4 separate regions of the Homo sapiens genome follow, and all the other regions are linked to region 1. Evidence: promoter capture Hi-C in 16 types of primary human blood cells and fetal thymus (Javierre and others, 2016). All regions are on one chromosome and are shown on one strand. Each heading gives the region's core, a stretch centred on a gene start or on the middle of the fragment in contact. The rest is flanking DNA. Distances are from core to core; before and after follow the strand shown. Region 1 holds the start of CETN2 (centrin 2). Region 2 has its middle 16 kb from the start of CCNQ. Region 3 has its middle 10 kb from the start of HAUS7. Region 4 holds the start of ZFP92 (ZFP92 zinc finger protein).

Region 1 (3,100 bases), core at 308-2,807:
AACAAACAAGCAAAATATACAGTAGGTCAGAAGGGGATAAGAACTGTTGGAAAAAAAAGTAGAGCAAGGTGAGTGGCTTGTTTGTACTGGGGGCTGCAATACTTAAATAGGGTGCCTAAGAGGAGGCAGGCGGAGAGGACAACTGAGACAAAGATGAGAGGCAGGAGTGTGGCTGGCACATGAGGTTCAACCACAAAGCCAGTGTTCTGGGGCTGGAGTGAGCCAGACGAGAGAAGAGTTGTGGAGCGATGGAAGGGGACACGTCGTGCCAAGCTTTGGAGATCACAGTGAGAACTCTGGCTCGTACTACTTGGGGGGATGATGATGACCCAAAAGTCAGGAATCTGTTCACTGCTGAAGAGAGAAGAGGGCAAAGGGCAGCAGCTCCATTTAAAAGGTTCTAATAAGCCTCGGGCCTTTCTCTGTCTGAGAAACTTACTCTCTGCCCTCTGTCTCCCTAGATTACTGCCCCTATGCCTGGAGGAAAAACAGGTGAAGGCTAAAAGCCACGGGGATAGCTAAAGAGGGCAAACTGGACCTCCAGCTCCACTTCTGCAGGTCTATGTCAGTCCACAGCCCTTGCACACGCTCCCTTTTAATTCTCCAAGCATACCTCTCACTTCCAAAACTCCTGTGACTCTGCTGATGAGGGCGTCTCGGCCTGGAATGCTCCTCCTTATCTGCATTGTGTGGGTGTCAAAAAGAGTATATTTTGATGACCTCTCCCCGCCCCTCATGCTCGCTCACATCCCCCTCACTCCTTTCAAAGTCCGTTCCCAAAGGCCCCAGTTCACCGTCCTGGGCTGCTTTTAGCCAGGTAAGATCTAAAGTGATCCTCTCTTGGAACCTGGTCTGGGGCCTATACATCTGGGTCAGTCTAGGGGTGCTCTCGAAGGGCCACCCTCAAAGAGCGAGCCTCGGCTGGATTCAGTTCCTAGGTCCCAGCCGTCCGACCTCTGCGACAACACTCAGCACACCCCTTCCCCTCTCCGGGTCTCAGTTGCCCCGTGAGTACAGTCCCTGCTCCAACACGCAAGGTAATCGTTTCTGGCTGCTCTGATGCACTCGGTCCCTAAACTCAGCCTTAGGTCAACCCAGAAAGCACCCGACCCGGGCGACCCCGTAGCTCCCCACCCTCCCGCACTGCCCAGTCGCTGACACAGGGTGACCTCCAATGGCAAGGCCACGACTCTTACCCGTCCGTAGGCGCCCCCCTGTCTGGCCTCAGCTCGCAAGCAGGCTGCACCCACTGAACTCCAGGCCCGGACCGCCACCCTTTACTCCCCTCCCGCGTGAGCCGAGAATCAGCCGAGCTTCCTCCACCAAGAGGATTGGCCCAGCTCGGCGACGACTCAGCCAATTGGCGCTCACGGCGTGATCTTGCCCAATAAAGACGGGGCTCTGTCGCCAGCGTGCCCCTCCCCGCGCTGGGCCGGGGCTTTGCCAGGTTAGTCCCACCCTCTTCGGCCCTGCACCAATAGGGAGAGGCGGCGACGAGCGGACGGCCAATGGGGAGCGGGGCTGCGCGCGCGGGGCGGTGGGAACGGCGCCGAGTCAGTGTACACGTCGGTTGCCTAACAACCGGCAGCGGACTCCTTTGGCTATGGTGAGTGCTGCCGCTCTGTCGCGCCCCACGCCCAGCGGCTGAGCCCTTCCCAGGCCCCAGCTCGGCCACGCCGCCTCTCCTGCGCCTTTCTCGGCTTTAGCGCACCAGTCTTTCCTTTGAGCTCTTTCCCGGGAGAGTAGGGTACAGACGCTAACCAACCTACTGGGCCTGCGCTTCGCTGCTGCCTCCTCTTCACCCACAACAGGCCCACACCCGCCCCTCGGGCTCCCCTTGCATTCCCTGATCCCCTCGGTGAACCTCCCTGGGCAAAAAAGACTCGAATCCCTCACAGGCCCCTGACTCTCTCAGACCTTGGCCCCCTGGCCTCCTCATTCTGCCAAAATTTCCACACACAGCTGGGAAAAGGTGTATCGTGTTCTGTTACAATGTTTTTTACAATTTAAATACAGGGGCATTCAGGGGATGCTTTAGCTTCTTGGAGAAGGCACGAAGGTGCCAGATGGATTGAGTTTTATTACTCGGTACTGACACAATATACATCTTAACAACTTACTAATATTTGGCCAAATCTAGAAGTAATTGGGAAGTCGGAGTACTTACTGGGAAGGGGAGTACTGGGAGTGGGCATCGTAAGACTGTTTTCAGAACCAGGATCCCCACGTTCGGGAAGAGCTGATTATCTCTAGTTATTCACAGTCATCTTCTTGACTGGCTCTCTTTTGGGATGATTTTCAGTAAGAGGTGTCCTTACTGAACAAGTGATCTCCCTGCTTCTAGAAACAACAGTAAAGAAAAGGGAGGGGTAGAAGTTCATGGAAAGATTCATTGTTCTTGCCAGTAAACCCTGTTATCTTTCTTTTTAAGCAAAGCTTTGGAATTGGTTATATAAATGACTTTAAAAATACATATGGGTGTCTGTAACTATGTTATGTAAATATGGACTGTATGATATATTATTGTGCTTGTGTATTGCATAACATATAAAGGCCTCCAACTTTAAGAAGGCAAACATGGCATCAAGTTCTCAGCGAAAAAGAATGAGCCCTAAGCCTGAGCTTACTGAAGAGCAAAAGCAGGAGATCCGGGAAGCTTTTGATCTTTTCGATGCGGATGGAACTGGCACCATAGATGTTAAAGAACTGAAGGCAAGCTCTGTGCATTCCTGCCGTACTGCCCTTCCTTTCCTCTGCCTCTTCCTTGTCATCTCCCTATCACCTCTCTACCCCTTTTGCCCTCTTCTCCCTGCAGTAAGTAACAGGGGAGGTTGTACTGTGCTGTTTTCCTGTCTTTACTTACTTTGAGTATTATTCAATAAAATTGATTGCAAATATCAATTAGATCAATGTCATAGTGTTCCCCAATCATATTAACATGACCACATCAGATGCTGGCTTAATGCTCTCAACACTGTTATTTTTGCTCCTGCTACTTTAGATGTGCTTATTGAGACGATCCTGTTTTCTTTATAGGTGGCAATGAGGGCCCTGGGCTTTGAACCCAAGAAAGAAGAAATTAAGAAAATGATAAGTGAAA
Region 2 (3,100 bases), core at 372-2,871, 780 kb before region 1:
CATCCATTGATTATTTTTTGCTTGAAACTCATTACTACAATAGTTGCCAAATGGCGATTTCCTATTTCCATCATTCCTTCTTCATTTATTATTTGGCTTTCTTCTGTGAGAAAGAGCTTCTCTTCTCCCCCTTTACAATCGTGTGTTGCTTAATGATGGGGCTATGTTATGAGAAGAGTGTTGTTAGGTGATTACATCATTGTGCGAACATCCTAGAGCGCACATACGCAAACCTAGATGGTGTAGCTTACTGCACTCCCAGGCTATATGGTATGGCCTATTGCTCCTGGGCTACAAACCTGTACACTATGATAATGTAGGCAGCTGTTAACACAGTGGTAAGTATTTGTGTGTCTAAACCTAGAAAAGGTCCAGTCAAAATGCAGTATTATAGGCTGGGCACGGTGGCTCACACCTGTAGTCTCAGCACTTTGGGAGGCTGAGGCGGGAGGATCACTTGATCCTAGAAATTCAAGAACATCCTGACCAACATAGTGAGACCCAATCTCTACAAAAAAGTTTAAAAATAGCCAGGTGTGGTGGCAGGTGCCAGCTACTAGGGAGGCTGACATGGGAGGATTGGTTGAGCCTGGGAGGTCTAGGCTGCAGTGAGCTGAGGTCACGCCACTGCACTCCAGTCTGGGCAACAGAGTGAGACCCCATCTCAAAAAGAAAAAAAAAGTGCAGTATTATAATCTCGTGGGAACACTGTCATATGTGCAGTTTGTTTTTGACCAAAGTGTCATTATTCAGTGTACAACTCTACTTATTTCTTTTTATCACTGTGGACTCGGGGGTTTCTTACTTTCTGGAAGAACAGGGTGTTCTAGGCTCATCTTGACTTTCCCTGGTCTCCTTTTCTGGAATCAGCCATTTCTCCTAGGATCCCTAATTCATTTTGAGTGGATAATGACACTTAGAAGCTTACTGGGAAATTGCACACACATAGAGAATACATACATATATGTGTATATATGTATATACAGTCCCATATCTATCTATCTCTCTCTCTGTCTCTCTCTCTATATATATCCATCTATCTATCTACCATGAGTTCATACTGACCCATCCAATTTCAACCCAACAGCACCACGTCCCTTCTAGTCTTCCTCCTACTTGCTGGTTGGTAACTTCTTTCCCTCTTGCTGAGAAAGTTGGCTCCCATTACCTGAAATATATTTATGTATTTGCTCAGTCCTAGAATACTTGGAAAGTAGTTTCAGAATCATCAACTCATGTCTCTGGAAAGGAGAAAACTACTCTGCAGATTTCCAGGTTTGTCTAGAGTTATTTTTGTTTTTCACTCGAGGACATATAGTCCCATACCGTGTTCAGGTTGCTTGCCGAGTTTTTTTCTCTTTCAAGGTGGTTGTGTTATTGTTCGATATATGGTTTGCTTCACTTGTTTCCGTTTGTATTTCCTGTGAGGATCTATTTCCCCACCCTTGTGACTTGATCTGTTTTAGGTACTTTGAAGTTCAAATGCTCTCTGTCTTCTGATTATGACGAGGACATGGGTTTTGGGTGGGTTTATTTGTGCTTGCTTTTTAAAAGTGATTTTGGTTTGGAAGCTCTGTTGAGAGTTCCAGATTTAAGGGGCTGCCATTACCTTGGATATCCAGGATTTTCTGAAAAATCAATGTTTTGAGCATGCCAGTTCTTTCCAATTTAAGTTTTAGATTGAACGTAATTGTAATCTAAATGCCATTTGTAAACGGAGCTTGACAAGGTGGTTCTTAAATCTATATGGAAGAACAAATGGCACAGCTAAGACAGAGAGAAGGAGGAGGTGGGTGGAGTTGCCTCGGCAGATTCTAAGAATTATTATAAAGGTGCCATATTTAAGATAGTGCGGGCTGGGCACAGTGGCTCATGCCTGGAATCCCAGCACTTTGCGAGGCTGAAGAGGAGGATCACTTGAGCCCAGGAGTTTGAGACCAGCCTGGGCAACACATGGTGAGACCCTGTCTCTACAAAACGTACAAAAAATTGGCCAGGCATGGTGGCGGGCATCTGTAGTCCCAGCTACTCAGGGGGCTAAGGTGGGAGGACCACCTGAGCCCGGGAGGTCGAGGCTGTGGTGAGCTGAGATCGCGCCACTGCACTCTAGCTTGGGTGACAGAGTGATACCCTGTCTCAAAACAAACAAACAAACAACAACAACAACAAAAACCTTGATGTATGACAAAGCTGGCATTGCTGGCCAGTGGGGGAAGGAGATGTTCAATAAATAATGCTGGACAATTGGTTATCCATATGGAAAATAAGGTCTGACGACATCAAGTGTTGGCAAGGCTGTGAAACCGCTAGAAAGCTTGTATACTACAGGGGGGGGCATATGGATTGGTACAACCACTTGAGAAAACAATTTTTCATTGCCCAGCAAAGTTGCAAGTGTACATTTCTGGTGGCCCAGGGATTTTCCTCTGGATATGCCCACTAGTGAAACTTGTGCTGGGCATCAGGACTCTGGTAACAGCCCAAAAAGTGGAAACAATTCCCCCTTCCACCAAGCAGATGATGCAGAGATCAGTTGTAGTTTAATCCCACAACAGAACAGAATGCTTGCGGGAAGAATGGATTACAGCTCTTCGTCTCGGGAATACCACATTCAGCGGAAAGGCAGGTTACAGAATAATACAGACAGTATGATTCCATTTGTATAAAATTCAAAACAGGCAAAACTAAAAAATATATTGTTTGGGGATGCAAAGGTGGTGAAACTATAAAGAAATACACAGGAGTGGTATATGCAAAATTCCAGAAGGTCACCTCTGAAGTGGGGGTAGGGGACATGGGGCAATGAGAAGGGTCACCCAAGGTCCTTCAAAGGGAACGTTACCTTTCTTCTAAGCTGGTGGTGAGTACACAGAGGTTTGTTGTATTGTTCTTTACACTTACACATATTTTGTAAATGTCCTTTTGTGTCTACTCAGTATCTACTAGACCGTTTTAAAAGGTGAGAGTTCTGCTGAATTCCATATGGAGAGGCACCGTGATCCTTTTGTGGCTGAGAAACCTCAAAAGTCTTCATTAGGCCCTGGTGACCCCCCCAGGTAACAGATGAGGGGAAAAATTGGGTCCCAGGACTGGCTCTGAC
Region 3 (3,100 bases), core at 195-2,694, 650 kb before region 1:
GTTCCCAACCAGGTTCAGCCGCTTCAGCCGCATCAGATTCTGGGAGGTCATGGGGAATAGGTGGGCTGGGGTTGGGGGCCTGCTGGTCGGGGCACAGGCCTTCCTGGGCATGGCTTTGGGCCCATCCTGACCAAGGGCACTCTGTTGGTGGCATCATGGCTTCCTAGTTCCCACTGAATCCAGGCCTGTCTGGGAAGGTTTCTGTTTGCTCCTATACAGGGCCTGCAAGCCTGTGCTGCTCCCCCTACTCCCAGCGATGGAACACGTCACACCAAATTGTGGAAGCCCACCATGCTGGCTGCTCTCTGCAGTGCCTCCTCCAGGCCTTACCCCCTAAGCAGCTCCACCCTGCAGTGAGTGGATGCCTCAGGTCACCTGGGACCTGCCAGCCCCAGCCCCAGCCCCGGCCCCCGAGAAGAGGTGAATGGGCCACAGCATACCTTGAAGGCATGGGGGTGCAGGCCTCGGGGATCCAGCTTGTTCTTGCTGAGATCCAGCCACTCCAGGTTGGGCAGCCCCAGGAACGTGTGGGCTGGGATCTTGGCAATTTCATTCTCTGTGCGCACATGGGGCAGCCATATTCTCTGCCCCCTGCCCGCTGCCACTCTGTACCTCCCACACCAGACAGGGCTGCTCAGGGGAGCCAGGGTGGGAGCCCAGGTCTCAGCCTTCTCACCCCTGCTGCAGGGGTGGGTGTGGGGCGAGGAGGCCACCCACCTGCCAGGTAGAGTGTGGTCAGACCAGGGTGGGTCAGGGCAGGGACATGCTTCATCTTGACATTGCCACAGGCGATGACTGCCTGGGCCAGGAGGCACGAGGCCGGCAGAGAGGGCATGGCCTGCTGGGTGGTGCCCAGGTCTGCGTGCCTGTGCCTGTGCCCATGTGTGCTTCCTGGTCTTTTCCACCCATGGCCTGGGGTCTTGGAGGTGCTGCCGCCGCCACCCTGGCCTCGGCTGCGGTCCTTCTGTGGGCGCCGGATCCTCAGCCCAGGTTGATGGGAGGTCCCTGGAGGAAGAGAGACAGCCCCTGCTGGGTCACAAGCAACAGGGGCCCTACTGAGGAACAGGGGCTTGCCCGAGGCTCCCAGGGCCTGCCAGTGACTCAGCCAGCCTGGGTTGGAGCGACAGGTTACTGGGACCCCTCCCCTTGGCACCAAGGGCAAAGGCCCAAATGGGGGCTCTGAGGCTGGGGAGGGGACGTGACTTTGGAGGGCTTCCCTCCCACCCCACACACGAGGGCACTTGGCTTGGAAACACCGGGAACGGGGCAGTGCCTGGGTGGCCAAACTCATGCGTGGTCCTGTCAGCCCCAGCAGGCCCCAGGCCCCACCTGAAGGCCGCCTGTCCTGGCCAGTTCTCACCTTTGGGGGGCCTCCTGGGTTTCAGGCCCCTTCCCTTGTCTTCCCGGCCTCCTGTCCTCTGGCCCTGGTCCTCCTCGGTGACTGCTGCCCCCTCTTGAGCTTGAGGGTCCCTGCCGGCCTGCCAGGGCCTCAGCTTCAAGGCCTCGGGCTTCCCTGCCCCAGCCCTCATGGCAGCTGTGGCCTGGGGCTGAGCCCACTCAGCGACCAGGCCCTTGTTGTGACCCTGCTCCTGCTCCAAGGTCACTGGGGGTGACTCCTTCCTCAGGGCCAGCCCTGGCCTGGGAAGCGCTTTCCAGCCAGTGGAGGGGGACTGGGTGGGGGTTCCTTGAGCTCCCTGCTTCGGGGTGGGCTGATCCCGCAACTGGTCCAGCTTCCCAGCCTCAGGCTTGTCTGGGTGGCCGATGCCAGGGATGGGCTGCAGCTGACCTGCGGAAGGAGCCAGTGTGGGCTGGGGGCCTTGCCTCCTTTCCCCAAGGGGCTGTCAGCTGCTAGAAAGCCCATCGCCCTTCCTCTTTACCCAGGCCTCCCCCCGCCCCGCCTTTCCCTTACCTCCTGAGGAGCACTGGCGAGAGAACAGAGTGTCCCCACCGTCAGCAGCAGGCCACCAGCCCCTGGGGCCAGTAACCCAGAGTACCTCTCAGAACTTACACAGCTCCTCACTGCTGGGGAGGGGGGTGGGTGGCGCTCTAGGCCCATTAGGGCTAAGGGGCTGGGCCTATAGGTTAGGCCCAGGGGTTGGACCGGTGGTTGGGCCCAGGGAGCTTCAGCAGCCCTGGGTAGAAAGCCTTGGGCTGCTCAAGGGACCTTGGGTCCCACCTCCCCTCACTTCCCCAGTGTGTCCCAAGGGTGGGGGGTAGGGCGTTTCCCCAGCATCCCCTTTGCCCCATACCCATTAGTGAGCAAGGACTTCACACGTGCTTCCTAGGGACAGCTTCTGGGGAGATGAAGGGGTCGCTGCGACCTGGCACAATTTGCTTTTAGAAGTGAAAGCCCCAGTGTCTGCTACAGGGGGTTTGTTGGGGATTAGGCAAGCCCAGGGGCCACCTCAAGGGGTCTGTGAGCCACTTTGGAGGAATGTTGATAACCCCAATGCCTCCTGTCCTCTATGGAGCAGCTCCTCCTTAACCAGGGCCAACCATGGGGGGCACCGCTCTGTCTGCAGGGGTGAGGGGCAGACCCACCCACCTGGCCCCTCCCGCCCTACCCCCAAGCCTGGGGCAGGGCCACCAAGTGTGGCTACAACCACTGGCCTATAAGACAAAGGCCACACTCATAGCCCATGTCCTCGGGCCCCTCAAGCCCCTCTCTGCCAGCAACCCCACTTCACCCCCAAGCCCTATACTCCCAGCCACCTGAGATTCTTCCTGTCTCAGGAGGCACTGGGGCAGCCAGAGCAACTCCTCCCCAGCACACCCCAGCCCGCTCTCAGCCTCACTGTAGCGCCCGCTCCTAGGAAGGCCTCTTCCCTCCCTCGCCCCTAGAGTCTGCGCACACCCCTCGCCCTCCAGGGAGGGCTCTCTCAGGGCCATGGGCCCTTTGCAGCCCTGCCTGAGTACCCAAAGTGGGCCTGAGGTGGACAGCCTGCGGCAGTCTTCTTCCTGCTGGTGCCAGCTACTCACCGTCGGGGGCCCCTGGTGGGCTGGGCAGCAGCTGCAGGGTAGCCAAGCCCATGGGGGTTGGTGGGGCCCCTCCTGAGCAGCTCCCCGCCCACAGTGCCAGGATGGGGAGCAGCACACTCCT
Region 4 (3,100 bases), core at 162-2,661, 580 kb before region 1:
GGCGGGGCCGGGGCGGCGGCAGCGTGGGAACGGGGCGCGTTGTGGGGGGGGCATGGAGCATGCGCGGCGCAGAGGGATGGCGGCCCGCCCCGCGCCCGCCCCACAGGGGCGTCTGGCCTGGCTCCCCACGCGCCCCGAGGCACTTCCGCTTTCTGTCTGGGCTGCTCTGAAGGCTGGGGTCGAAGTGGTCAGCGCACCGCGGCTCCTGAAGGGGACGGGAGGGACCCGCGTTGGCAGAACACCTCCCATGGGCTAGACCCCTGGGCGTTATTACGTCCATTCATTCAGTTATTCATCTCGCTGGGGTCCCCGGGACCTCTGCAGGGCAGCTAGCACCAAGTACCCCGGCCATGGTCACTCAGTAAAGGAGTGACCCAGGATGGCAAGGATCAGAGAGCGGGGAAGAGGTGAAAGGTGACTCAGGGAGCATGGTGTGGAGACACGAGGAGGGGAAAAAGGAGGTCAGGGAAGTGCAAGAAGCCAAGACCCTCTGGGTGCATCTGGCTTTCCCTCAGGTTACCGGAGGGGATCGCACCTGGAGTTTGTCATTTTCCAAAGGGTCATGCTCCACGTGGTAGAGCAGGGAGTGAAATCCAAGGTTGGTTGGGATATTGCTCTGATGACAATTGTGAGACCTTTGACAAATAGTGAAGCGTATGAAAAAGACCGTAAAAGAAAAGCAACAGGGAAAAATCAGCCACATCACATATCCCAGCCCCGGCCACTGGGAACTGAGCACGAGGCGGGAGCCTCCTTGGCCTTTGAACCAGAGTTCAGGGGTTTCTTTTCTTCAGAGACCCTGGGCCCTGGCCAGGAGCACTTAGCCCGCAGCAAGGAGCCCTCGGCAAGCCTGCGCTCCCAGAACAAAAGCCGTCCATCTGGGGCATAGGGGAAGGGCGAGGACGCTGCTCAGGGAACCTCCGGTTGCAGGGAGCAGGGCCCCCAGGGGGCCCAGTGCAGGGAGAGCTTCGGAGCCCCTTTCCCGGCGCAGAGGCAGGGAGTCTCCCGGTGGCCCTCAGCTGTGTGTCCTGGTGCCCAAGCTTGTCCCTTCACCGGGGCTCTGGCTGGGCAGGCTGGGATCTGGGCTGTTGAGATGTTGTGGGGTGACTGGTTGGTGCCCCTTGAAAGATACATCCATATCTTAACACCCAGGCACTGTGATCAGGGCCTTATATGCAAATAAAGGGTGTCTGCAGATGTCATTAAATTGAGGATGTGGAGATGAGAGCAACCCAGATGATCCAGGGGGCCCCAAATCCAAGGACAGTTTCCTTAGAAGAGACAGGAGAGAGAGACACAGAGAAGGCCATGTGGAGGCGAAGGTGGGGAGTGCCCAGGGCCCCCAGAAGCTGGAAGAGGTGGGTGGATCCACCCCCAGAGCCACCGGAGGAAGCGCCCGATTCTGGACTCCGGCCTCCAGAACTGGGAGAGTCAATTCCTGTTGGCTGAAGCCAAGCGGTTTGTGGTCATTTGCTGCGGCAGCCCAGGCCACTCCGACACGAGGGAATAGGCTGAGCCCAGAGTCCTCCTGGGCCATGGAGGCAGGGGGCGGGGGGACCTTTGCACCCGCATCATCCAGTAACCTGGTGGGGACTGGGGCGACCTTGGGAAGGCAGCTCCTGTTGTCCTTGGCTCATTTCCAGAGAGTGTGAGCGGCCAACCTGCATGGAGGCTGGGGAGTGTGTGCCTCGGGCAGGGGAAGGGGGCCCCTGGGAGTGCACCCCACTTCCACTGCAAGAGAAAGGGCCATGTGCACTGGGCTGCGGGTCCCACACAAGCTTAGAAATGGGGGAGCAGGGGTCACCGTGTGCACCATTGTTGGCACCGCGTGTGTGGACACATTGGTGGTGGAGGCGGCAGCGCGGTCAGCTGAAGAGCGCGACGCCTAGAGCAAGTGAAGACGACCTTGACAAGCCCACGATCCTGTCGGGAGATCAATCTCCCTTCCAGCATGTTTTCAGTTTTTTACTGTAAAGAACTGCAAACCCATGCCCAACCTAGAGAGGATGACAGGGCACACGGGCCCTCCCGGCGGTCCTCACACGGCCCTCTCTCCTCCTCTCCACTCCCCTTATTGTGGCCCTGAGGCCTGGGGCCTCCTGAGAGAGGTATCTCCATCTCTGCTTTAGGCAGGGGCAGGGCCTCCCGGGCAGCAAACCCGGATTCAGAACCTGGGGAGGAAGAGTTGGGGTCTGGAAGTGGGGAGGTCCCCTTTCCTCCCTGGGTTCCCACCACACCTAGCCCTCTCACAGTCCGGCTGGCCTGGCTGCTCCCCAGCTCTGGTCTCCCGTTCTCCCCTTGCCCTAGGCTGGCCCAGGACGGGCAGGTGAGGTAGCCGGGGGGCAGGGGAGTGGGCGCTTTCCCACAGCTGTGGTGCTGCCCACTGTGCCGTGGGCACCCGCCAGGTCACAGGCAGCCCCCTCCTGGGGGCAGGTTGGCAGCCGGTCTCCCAAGCCACAGCAGGTGCCCAGGGGCCCAGCAGGGAGGTCCAGGGTGACGTCAAGCTGTCTGTGGGAAGTGAGTGAGCAAGTTGGGGAAGGCCAGGCCAAAGGGGGCTGTAAGCCACCTTCACAGCAGGGCAGGGGTCAGGGCGGCACCTCTCCCAGGGGTCAGCTGGGCTGTGGCTGACTGCTCTGCTGGAGTGCCCTTGGAGGGAGGTGGTCTTGGGCTGCATGCAGAGCCTTGGGAATATGCTGCCAGCCTCAGATATCCACTGAGGGTGATGGCGACTGTGAGCTCCTGTGGGGACAGGATGTGTGTCTGGACTGGATGAGCTGTTTTTGCAACTCCTGCCTCCGCCCCCCTGCCAGAAAAGTGCTGTAGATGGGGTGCAGCCAGTGAGTGGGGGAGGGGATGTCCAGGCTGCAGTCCCAGGAGACAGTGGCTCTGGGGAAAGCAGGGGATGGAATGCACGCGGCAATGCCTCAGGTCACGCAGGTTGCTCCTTGACCCTGCAGAAGGGTCGGAGTACTGCGTGGCTCATGGCATGGAGAATGCCTTGTGTCATGTGGGCCAGTTTGTCCAACCCTGCGACCCCTGAGGATTGATGGGACCCTCAGGATGAGGCCGGTAGGGGCAATAGTGTCAGGCCTGGGTGCCA

The links. Contacts are between HindIII fragments. The CHiCAGO score rates a contact against its expected background, and 5 or more counts as called.
Region 2: a contact is called between a fragment that was not itself captured here and the fragment with the promoter of CETN2 in region 1, in 1 of 17 cell types (neutrophils). The highest score is 7.4, in neutrophils.
Region 3: a fragment that was not itself captured here is called in contact with the fragment with the promoter of CETN2 in region 1 in 1 of 17 cell types (neutrophils); the score reaches 5.4 in neutrophils.
Region 4: a contact is called between a fragment that was not itself captured here and the fragment with the promoter of CETN2 in region 1, in 1 of 17 cell types (monocytes). The highest score is 5.1, in monocytes.

What each region holds. Positions count from the first base shown.
Region 1 is chrX:152,829,214-152,832,313 of GRCh38, reverse strand. CETN2 (centrin 2) reads left to right here and starts at 1,557. Exons shown (of 5, transcript NM_004344.3): 1 at 1,557-1,606; 2 at 2,554-2,712; 3 at 3,037-3,100. The coding sequence starts at 1,604. NSDHL (NAD(P) dependent 3-beta-hydroxysteroid dehydrogenase NSDHL) reads right to left here and starts at 1,251. Exons shown (of 8, transcript NM_015922.3): 1 at 1,197-1,251. RefSeq lists a silencer at 1,318-1,657. The HindIII fragment of the contact is 2,163 bases long and covers 276-2,438 here.
Region 2 is chrX:153,613,357-153,616,456 of GRCh38, reverse strand. No RefSeq gene overlaps it. Among named protein-coding and RNA genes, the nearest start is that of CCNQ, 16 kb to the right of the region's middle. The HindIII fragment of the contact is 1,391 bases long and covers 926-2,316 here.
Region 3 is chrX:153,479,266-153,482,365 of GRCh38, reverse strand. It overlaps a transcript of HAUS7 not described here and the pseudogene ECMXP. Among named protein-coding and RNA genes, the nearest start is that of HAUS7, 10 kb to the right of the region's middle. The HindIII fragment of the contact is 5,581 bases long and covers 1-3,100 here.
Region 4 is chrX:153,408,375-153,411,474 of GRCh38, reverse strand. It overlaps ZFP92 (ZFP92 zinc finger protein), which reads right to left and starts at 3. Exons shown (of 6, transcript NM_001136273.2): 1 at 1-3. It also overlaps a transcript of PNMA6E not described here. RefSeq lists a silencer at 1-207. The HindIII fragment of the contact is 738 bases long and covers 1,043-1,780 here.